Regions from separate parts of the Homo sapiens genome. Here region 2 is linked to region 1. Evidence: promoter capture Hi-C in human tissues and cell types (Jung and others, 2019). All regions are on one chromosome and are shown on one strand. The core of a region is centred on a gene start or on the middle of the fragment in contact, and the rest is flanking DNA. Distances in the headings are between cores, read along the strand shown.

The links. The method cuts DNA at HindIII sites, captures the fragments that hold promoters and counts their contacts. A contact is called where the count stands out against the background at its distance.
Region 2: the fragment with the promoter of PNPLA7 here is called in contact with the fragment with the promoter of TOR4A in region 1 in 1 of the 25 tissues and cell types used here (mesenchymal stem cells).

Annotation. Positions count from the first base shown.
Region 1 is chr9:137,272,492-137,279,312 of GRCh38, forward strand. TOR4A (torsin family 4 member A) reads left to right here and starts at 5,235. Exons shown (of 2, transcript NM_017723.3): 1 at 5,235-5,416; 2 at 6,162-6,821. The coding sequence starts at 6,199. It overlaps NELFB (negative elongation factor complex member B), which reads left to right. Exons shown (of 13, transcript NM_015456.5): 12 at 16-124; 13 at 291-1,051. The coding sequence ends at 437. RefSeq lists an enhancer at 2,315-2,494 and silencers at 5,136-5,455, 5,736-5,795. The HindIII fragment of the contact is 16,896 bases long and covers 1-6,821 here.
Region 2 is chr9:137,549,152-137,551,651 of GRCh38, forward strand. PNPLA7 (patatin like domain 7, lysophospholipase) reads right to left here and starts at 1,251. Exons shown (of 35, transcript NM_001098537.3): 1 at 1,017-1,251. The coding sequence starts at 1,046. RefSeq lists an enhancer at 360-861 and a silencer at 2,050-2,500. The HindIII fragment of the contact is 18,703 bases long and covers 1-2,500 here.

The sequences.
Region 1 (6,821 bases), core at 3,985-6,484:
CACGGCCTTTTCCAGGAAGGAGAACGTGCACCGGCACGCGCTGCGGCTCCTCATTCACCTGCACCCCAGGGTGGCCCCGTCTAAGCTGGAGGCGTTGCAGAAGGCCCTGGAGCCTACAGGCCAGGTGGGTGCCCGGGGGGGCTGCATCTGAAGGCACCTGGTCCCTACCAGCCCGTGTGTGCTTGCCAAGCTGCCCTTGTGGTGCTTGTGTGTGGTCGGTGGGCACCCACCCCTGTGCCCCCTGGGCCTGCCCATGCGCCTCGCCTGCCCCATGGTGTGGTTCCCCGCAGAGCGGAGAGGCAGTGAAGGAGCTTTACTCCCAGCTCGGCGAGAAGCTGGAACAGCTGGATCACCGGAAGCCCAGCCCGGCACAGGCTGCGGAGACGCCGGCCCTGGAGCTGCCCCTCCCCAGCGTGCCCGCCCCTGCCCCGCTCTGAGGGCCCTCCAGACCTGCTCGGGTGCTGGGGCCATGCCGAGTCGCGGCCCTGCTCAGCCGGAAGAGGCTCCCGGACCTGGATGTACAGGGCAGTCTCTCTTCCCGGGGCTATGGCTGGGCCTGTCCTGCCGTCATGGCCCCCTGCTTCCTGCTCCTTGGAGCTGGCTCCCGGACCTTGCCCACCATCCATGCAGTGGCTCCCAGGGCAGAGCCTCTCCTTGTACTTTGGCAGCCATAGAAAGCGTGCTCATTTTCTGTTTTCCTGTGTTAGGAAAAAACCACCTGTTTTCCAAGGGGAGAGGGCGGGGCCTGAGGGTGGGGGCGGGGCCTCTTCATTGGCCCAGCTTGGCGAAAGCGAGGCACACTGCTTACTGCCTTGGGGTTGTGGAGATGGACCCGTGACCTCGTGGAGGCCGTGTGGGGGCAGCAGCCTGGCCTGTGCCATGGTGGGTGTCCTGGGGCCTGTGCGGAGGGAGCCACCTCACCCTGCAGCCCAGTTTGCAGGTGTGGCCTTGTTTCTCCTTGCCCAGCAGTGCTGCCTTCAGCGGCCGTGACGGGGCCAGCTGGACACACGGTGAGATTTTCTCGTATGTAAATAAAAGGCATTTTGGTAAACGTGGAGGCTGAGATGTCTCTGTGCCTGCCCTGAGGTTGGATGTAGCTCAGATGGACACAGGCATTTGTGCTATGGAGCCAATACTTGGGGCTTTGTGGGCCACAGCCTCTCTGGACTGCTCAGCCCTGTCTGTGACCAGCAGCTGGGGACGATATAATAATTTCTGGGGGAGGTTGATATAATAATTTCTGGGGGAGGTTGATAAAATTTCTGGGGGAGGATATAATAATTTCTGGGGGAGGTTGATATAATTTCTGGGGGAGGATGATATAATAATTTCTGAGGGAGGTTGGCAGGAAGCCCTCACCCTCGGGGCTTTGGTGCCCCTAAGACGCAGATCAGCTGCTTTGTTTTTGTCCTGCGATTCCAGGGGGCACCTCTCACCTCCTGGTGCACACCAGGGACAGGAGCCCTGGAGGCCCAGGATGTGCCATGGGTCACAGGCACAGAGCCAGGGCCATTTCCAGCAGATGAGACCTCAAAGCCGGGCAGCAGTTCATAGCATGCAGGGGCGATGGCCCGGCTGCCAGGTGTCACTGTCCTTGGCTCGCAGCATGCAGGGGCGATAGCCTGGCTGCCAGGTGTCACCGTGTCCTCAGAGACGCCTGTTGGCGAGCTCGCCTCCCTGGAGTGTGAGGCCACAGCTGAGCAGGTTGGGACCTGTTGGGTGAGACAAGCCCATGGTGCTGGGATCTCGTGGGTATGGGAGTCTCTGAGCTGGTATCCTCTGGGGCAGAGCCAGGGACGCCTGGGACTCTGTTGCACCTGTGCATGGGGCTTGTGGTCTACACTGGGAGATCTGTGCCTCAGTTTATTGTGGTCTACACTGCCGGATCCATGCCTCAGTTTATCCAGTCATGTCTCTCCAAGAGCCCCAGGGCAGGCGGAGAAGTCCCAGCCTGAGGGCTTTGGTTGGGAGCTGGGGACCCAGGTGAGGCTGGGTGTCTGGGGCTGGCCTGGCTGGTGGGTGGAGGGCGCAGGTTCTGGGTAGGTGTGAGCAGCAGAGGAGTCTTGGAGGGTCCAGGGCTCTGAACCTGCCCAGGTGGGCTGTGACGGGAAGATGAAGGGCTTGTCTGACAGGCACATGCAATGGGTTTGGGGCTGTGGAGCTCAGAAGAGACTGGGGCCAGGTTGTGGATCTGGATGCTGTCATAGGGAGTGGTGTTTGAGCTACTGACTGGGCCAGATCAGCCCAGGTGAGGGAGAGCAGCCGTGTGCTCTGGGCGGGCCTTCCTGGCCAGCTGGGGCGGGGGGGTGGCAGCTGGCAGCAGATTGGGTGCCCCACAGCCCAGGGAGGAGGGGCTGAGGAACAGTGCTTTGGAGGGAGAGCTGAGGAAGCAGGAGAGGCCTGGAGACCCAGCTGAGAGGCACTAAGGAGTGGGATGAAGGTCAGTTCCGGCCAGGAGTGCGTGCTTTTTTTGCTTTTTTTTTTTGAGATGGAGTCTCGCTCTGTCGCCCGGTCTGGAGTGCAATGGCGCAATCTTGGCTCACTGCAAGCTCCGCCTCCCGGGTTCACACCATTCTCCTGCCTCAGCGCCCCCCCCACCCCAGCATCTGGGACTACAGGCACATGCCGCCACGCCCGGCTAATTTTTGTATTTTTAGTAGAGACGGGGTTTCACTGTGTTAGCCAGGATGGTCTCGATCTTCTGACCTTGTGATCCACCTGCTTCGGCCTCCCAAAGTGCTGAGATTACAGGCGTGAGCCACCGCGCCCGGCCTGGTTTTTTTTTAAAGATAGAAGAAATAGATGTTTCTGGGCTGATGGGAATGACCCAGTAGGGTGAGGAGTGGAGGATGGTCCAGGGGCTGGGCTGTCACTGAATGAGCAGGTGGCCGGGGTCTCAGCACAGCAGGGGTGTCCTCAGAGGAGGGCTGATGGGCGCAGATGCTGGGGTGACGGCTGAGGAGACACTGGGAGTCCACTGCTGCTGCCTCCCATTTTCTCAGGTCTTGGGCTAGGAGGCAGGATAGGGGGAAGTGGCAGGGGAGAGGACGAGTAGAGGACTTGACTGTAGGAGGAATGGTCAGTGAGTGGACCCGGGTGCCTGGTTTGGTCACTGGGCAGCGGGCGCGTCCTGTCCAGGGCGCCTGCAGGGGGTGCCAGGCCTACGGGTGGGGAGTGAAGGACAGAGAGTGAGGAGCCCGTGGGTGAGGGACTGGTGAGGTGGAGGGTGTGAATTGCAAGGACTGGGATGGGACCGTGCGTGGACGGCTGAGCCTCGGGGGCGCATGGTTACTGTAGCGAAAGCCTTTAGGGGCAGAAAGAGCAGAGCTGCCTGAGCGACTGGGTGTGGACGCTGCTGGGAAGTTAGGGAGAAGGACTTGGTAGGGGAGGACCGAGGGCCCAGGCACGGGAGGCATCGTCTGGTGAAGTGAAACCTATGGGGAATTTGGGAGGAGAAGTGGGGAGGCTGCCCACGGTTTGGGGAAAACAACCTTGCTGGCAAGGGCTGGGGGAAGCAGTGAGGGTGAAGTCCTTTCAGAGGCTGAGAACATGTACTGTGTTTGTGGGTGATGGACATGAATTCTGGGCGCAGCGGCAGGGCTGGGTTGGGTAGGGAGGCGGGAGGGGAGGCCTCCTGGAATGGGAATGGGTGTGATTGGGGGTGGCCCTGGGTATCACAGGAGATGGTGATGGCCCTGGGAGCTGGGGTTCTGGGGCTCCCTTCACCCCTGTAGATGGGAGAAAGTGCAGGGGGTGAGGCCTTGGCCCAGGCCTCAGATTCACCTTTGACCCATAGGGCCAGGTCTTGGGGCACCCCTTGAGCGAGTCCCTTTCCTGCAGAGGGCTCTGGCCTGAGGATTTGCTGGGCCAGCCTCTGGCAGAAGCAGCTCCAGCCCTGGGTGCACTTGGAGGCAGGGCAGAGGCTTTGCTGCAGGTTTTCCAGGGCTCGGTCAGCCTGCATCTGCCCGAGGGCCTCCCCTCCAGGGTCCTCTCTGTGTCAGAAGAAGCACCGAGACTCAAAGCCTGAGGCCCCCAAAGGACCCCAACCTCCGTGCTGGGGCCACGGGGCCTGGACAGCCAACCTCCTTCCGCTCTGGTCCCACAGAGGCCGGGGAGTGGGCCCAAAGAGCACCAGCATTCCACCTGGTGTGTGCGGCCCCCGCGGCCTCGACAATTGGGGATCCGGGCCCCCGAGCACCCCTTGCACAGGGGAGGGGAGCCCTAGGCCTGGCTCCTGGAGGGGAGCGTGATAGTCCGGTGGACCCCATACCCTGGAGAGAATGGAAACCCCCAACCCACGACCGGTTTCCCTGATGGAGCCTGTCTGGTTGGGTGCAGTGTGTGAGGAATATACAGCTGGAACCATCAGGCCCGGGCTGGCTGTTGGGAGGAGTGGGGCGTCCCTGGGACTGCGGGGTCCTGAGCTGAATGCCAGCAGCACTGGTGTGGCTGGAGCGGCCACCTTGCCCCTCCTTGGAAGGCGGCTTCCAGGCTGGGCCAGGGTAGGAGGAGTCCAGGGTCCTTTAGGCAGGCCGGCAGGGGGAAGGGCCCAGAGCTCCAGCTCCTGGCTCCCGGCCCAAGTTGTTTCTAAATTTGTTCCCCAACCCCCACAGGGACCCTGAGCCGCACGTGGTTTTTTCCGTGATAGAACTTCCGTCTGTGTGTGCTGGCCTGTCCTGGGCAGGGGGCTCCAGGCTGGGGACGGAGGAAGGGGGAAAGGAAAGACAATGAGCCCACTTTGGGGGGCCCCCGATTGGGGTCAGGAGGGGAATGAAAAAGCGGGGAGAGGAGTAATAAGAGAGGGATTGGGGGTATGCAGCTCGGCAGAGGACCCTGCCCGCCCCCTGTGCTGCTGCCTTGCTCCCGCCTTGCTTACACAGGGCCTGGAGCCCCTCCCCCCAGCTGTAAGCCCTGTGTGTGGGGTGACAGGTGGAAGGGATAACCTGGGGGAGGTGGGGGCCCTGGAGGACAGGCTGAGGTGCAGGAGCCCAGGGTGGGGGCACAGCATGCAGCAGGGGCCCTCGGCCTCACCAGGTGTCCTGAGCCTGACCAAGCCAGGAGGGCTCTGAGCGCTAGAGAACTGAAGCGGGAATGTGACCTCCGGCCAGGGGATCTGGGCAAGCCGGCCAGGCCTCCCCCCTTTGGCGCCTCCGTCCAGCCCAAGTCCCGCCTGGGCCGCACCCCCTGACTCACTTCCTTTGCATAGAAGCGGAAACCTCCCCAGAGCTTCCTCTACTCCGGCCGGCCGCTCCCTGGGGACCCACAGGTGTCGCTGCCCCTCCAGGCCGAAGCTGGCCCAGGAGGCCCCTGGCCCACCCCCTCGCCCTGGGAGGCGCATTTCCTGCTTGGAGTCTCAGGCCCCAGCGTCTGGCACAGGCAGGGGCCTGCGGAGCTGAGGGCAGTGGACCAGCTGCAGGTAGGGGGTGGGTTGGGGCCCAGGGCCCAGTTCCTGCCAGTCAGTGGCTCTCTTGCTCCGACCGGCCTCTTCTTTCTGTCCATCTTTTCGTTTCACCTCCACTAGTCTCCGGGGGGCTCCCTGCACTGCTCAGCTCGTTCACTGGAGGGGTGTTGGGAGGACCCCAGTTTTGGAGTCGGGGCTGGGAGGCCTGGGTTGAGCCTGGGGACGGGGCCCGGGCCTATTCTCAAAATCATAAGTTCCAGCCAGACCCCCGCCAAGTGTTCTGGAGCGTGTGGGGGCGTCTCTGAACTCCTGGGCGCTCAGGCCTCTGCTTCCCGCGGCCCCTCCTTGGGAGACGGCCCAGTCCAGTGGGAGCCGCGGGCGGGGGCAGGGTCCGGGGGTGACTGTTCACCCCAGTGGGCGCCTGGGCGGCCACTGACTCCTTCGACGACTCCTCCAGGAAGCCGGGGCGGCCACCAGATAAGCCTCTACCCCGCCACTTCCTCAAGGCCCGCGGCCGTTTATGGGAAGACCCGAGAGATTTGCATCGGGGCCCTGCGGAGGGGCGGAGGGGCGGAGGGGCGGAGGGGTCGCTTGCCGGTCTGAGGGGCGAGGCCGCGACCAGGCCCCTGGCCCTGGGGCAGCCCGGGCCGCACCCCACGGGACTCCCAGGGGGTAAGATCACTCCGGGGACCGGTTCCGGCGGCCCGCGGGAAAGGGCAGTGGCGGGAGTCCAGAGACCCTCCCCGTCTTCCCGTTGCAGGGAGGGCGACCTGTATGCGGAGCGCCGTTCCTGCGACATGGACCGCGGCCAGCCCAGCCTGGAGCCTGCTGCCGCGGCCCCCCGAGCCTCGGGCCGGTGCGTGATCGCGCCCGTGCGCGCTGTGCTCCGCCTGCGCCGCCGGGTGTGTGTCCTACGCAAACGGCGCCTCCTGCAGCCGGGTGGGGGGCCCGACGTCGGGACCGGGGCGCCCAGGCCGGGCTGCAGCCCCCGGGCACCGCGCGCGGACCTGGACCAGCCAAAGTTCTTCACCTTCGACAGCCCCGCGGAGCTACCCTCCAGGACGCCACGCAAGAAGCGCCGGCGCAGCCGCCTGGTGCTTTACCCGGAGACCTCGCGCAAGTATCGGCCGCGCGTGGAGCACAGGAGCCGCGCGCAGCGCTGCCTTCTGCTGCTAGTCGCCATCGTGGGCTTCCAAGTTCTCAACGCTATCGAGAACCTGGACGATAACGCGCAGCGCTATGACCTCGACGGGCTGGAGAAAGCGCTGCAGCGCGCGGTGTTCGGCCAGCCCGCTGCCGTATCGCGCATCGTGGCGCTGATGCGGGACTACCTGGCCACGCATGTGCACAGTCGTCCGCTCCTCCTGGCGCTGCACGGGCCCAGTGGCGTGGGCAAGAGCCACGTGGGCCGCCTGCTGGC
Region 2 (2,500 bases), core at 1-2,500, 270 kb after region 1:
AGGCCTTTGCCATGTGGCTACAGATGTTTGACTAAGAAAAAGATTCTAGGGCTGGGCACAGTGTCTCACGCCTGTAATCCCAGCACTTTGGGAGGCCGAGGCGGGCAGATCATGAGGTCAAGAGTTCAAGACTAGGCCGGGCACGGTGGCTCATGCCTGTAATCCCTGCACTTTGGGAGGCCAAGGCGGGCGGATCACGAGGTCAGGAAATCGAGACCATCCTGGCTAACACAGTGAAACACCGTCTCTACTGAAAATACAAAAAAATATTAGCCGGGCGTGGTGGTGGGCGCCTGTAGTCCCAGCTACTTGGGAGGCCGAGGCAGGAGAATGGCGTGAACCTGGGAGGCAGAGCTTGCAGTGAGTTGAGATCGTGCCACTGCAATCCAGCTTGGGCGACAGAGCAAGACTCCGTCTCAAAAAAAAAAAAAAAAAAAGTTCAAGACCAGCCTGGCCAACATGGCGAAACCCCGTTTCTACTAAGAATACAAAAATTAGCCGGGCGTGGTGCCTGTAGTCCCAGCTACCCGGGAGGCTGAGGCAGAATTGCCTGAACCCAGGAGGCGGAGGTTGCTGTGAGCCAAGATCACACCATTGCACACCAGCCTGGGCGACAGAGCGAGACTCCGTCTTGGGAAAAAAAAAAACACAGAAAAAGGTTCTAAGCAAAACCATCAGGCAAAGTCCTAAAGGAACTGGAAGTAGCAACTGTGACCTTAGGGGAAGAAAAGACAAGGCCTCAGGCAATGCCCATGGGCCACCGCTGGCTGCCCTCGCTGTGAACAATGCCCATGGGCCACCACTGGCTGTCTGCTGTGACAGGCGCGTCTAACAAGTGCTGGCAGCTGTGACAGGCAGCAGAGAGGGGCCAGATCCACCACTCCCACAGTCCTCAGGCGCCAAGAAGCCACGGGGCCAAAGAGCGCGGCAGAGCAGACGCCAAGAGGACCCTTCTCTGGGTCCAGAAATGCCCCCCAACTGGGAAATCCAGGCATCTGGTCCCCCGAGTTACATACCTGTGGGCTGTCATCTTTCTCTTCCTCCATGGCCAGAAACAGAAAAAACAGTCAGGGGCGAAAAGCAGACAGCCTGAAGCAAACAAGGGCACACCTCTACCCGCTCATGCTCACACCTGGACACTTTTCCCTGGGTTCCTTTCAAGTCAAATTATGTTTCACTGAAAGGAAAATCCTGCTGAAAAAGTCTGTTCTCCAGGAAGAAAAGCTGTCTTTTGAGAAGTGTCTGTCATCTGCTAGGAGCCACCTCCTTCCCTCTGTAAACAGCCCTCACGTGGCTGTCCCGGAACCCAGAACAGCAGCCAGATGGGGCGTATCCAAGCAGGTCAAGAGGAGCCAGGCCCAGCGCGGCGGGGATGGGGGCAGCGCTGCCTTCTGGAGAAGCACGGCTGGAGGGGAGGTGACGCTGGCGGGGCGTGGATCCGGGGTGTGGGGATGCAGCTGGGGAGGAGGGTGCAGCTGGGGAGGGGGTGGATCCGGCGTGTAGGGGTACCGCTGGGGAGTGGGTGCAGCTGGGGAGGGGGTGGATCTGGGGTGTGGGGGTGCCGCTGGGGAGTGGGTGCAGCTGGGGAGGGGGTGGATCCGGCGTGTAGGGGTACCGCTGGGGAGTGGGTGCAGCTGGGGAGGGGGTGGATCTGGGGTGTGGGGGTACTGCTGGGGAGAGGGTGCAGCTGGGGAGCGCGTGGATCCGGCGAGTGGGGGTACCGCTAGGGAGGGGGTGCAGCTGGGGAGGGGGTGGATCTGGGGTGTGGGGGTGCCGCTGGGGAGGGGGTGCAGCTGGGGAGGGGGTGGATCTGGGGCGTGGGGGTGCCGCTGGGGAGGGGGTGCAGCTGGGGAGGGGGTGGATCTGGGGCGTGGGGGTGCCGCTGGGGAGGGGGTGCAGCTGGGGAGGGGATGGATCTGGGGTGTGGGGGTACCGCTGGGGAAGGGCGTGCAGCTGGAGAGGGGATGGATCTGGGCTGTGGGGGTGCCGCTGGGGACGGGGTGCAGCTGGGGAGGGGGTGGATCCGGATTGTGAGGGTGCGGCTGGGGGGCGACTTCCGCGTGGGGTGAGAGGTCGCCTGCGAGGGTGACCGGGCAGGAGGGCTCAGTGCGCAAGCCGGACGTGCTGGGTCCAAGATTATTGATTAATTTGGGCACCGCGAGGGCTCGAGTCCCCCCACACCACTGCCCGGCCTGCGGGGGAGCACAGACAGCCCGGGCCCTCCCGGCTGCAGGTCCCGGGCTTTCCCCGCGCGGTTGCCGGCTCCGCCCAGAGGAGCCGCGCCCGGCGGAGGGGTAAGAAAGGCAGGGTCGCGGCGTCAACGCGGCGGCCGTCTCGAGTCCAGGGCCCGCGTCCTCCCCGACCTCCCGACGCCACCTCACGGCCTCAGGGGGACTGGGCTCCCGGGAAACCGCCGGCCACCTGGCGGACGAACACAGGCAGTGGCGGGCAGTGGAGACGCCAGGGACCACCGCGCTGAGAGCGATCACTCATCCGCCAG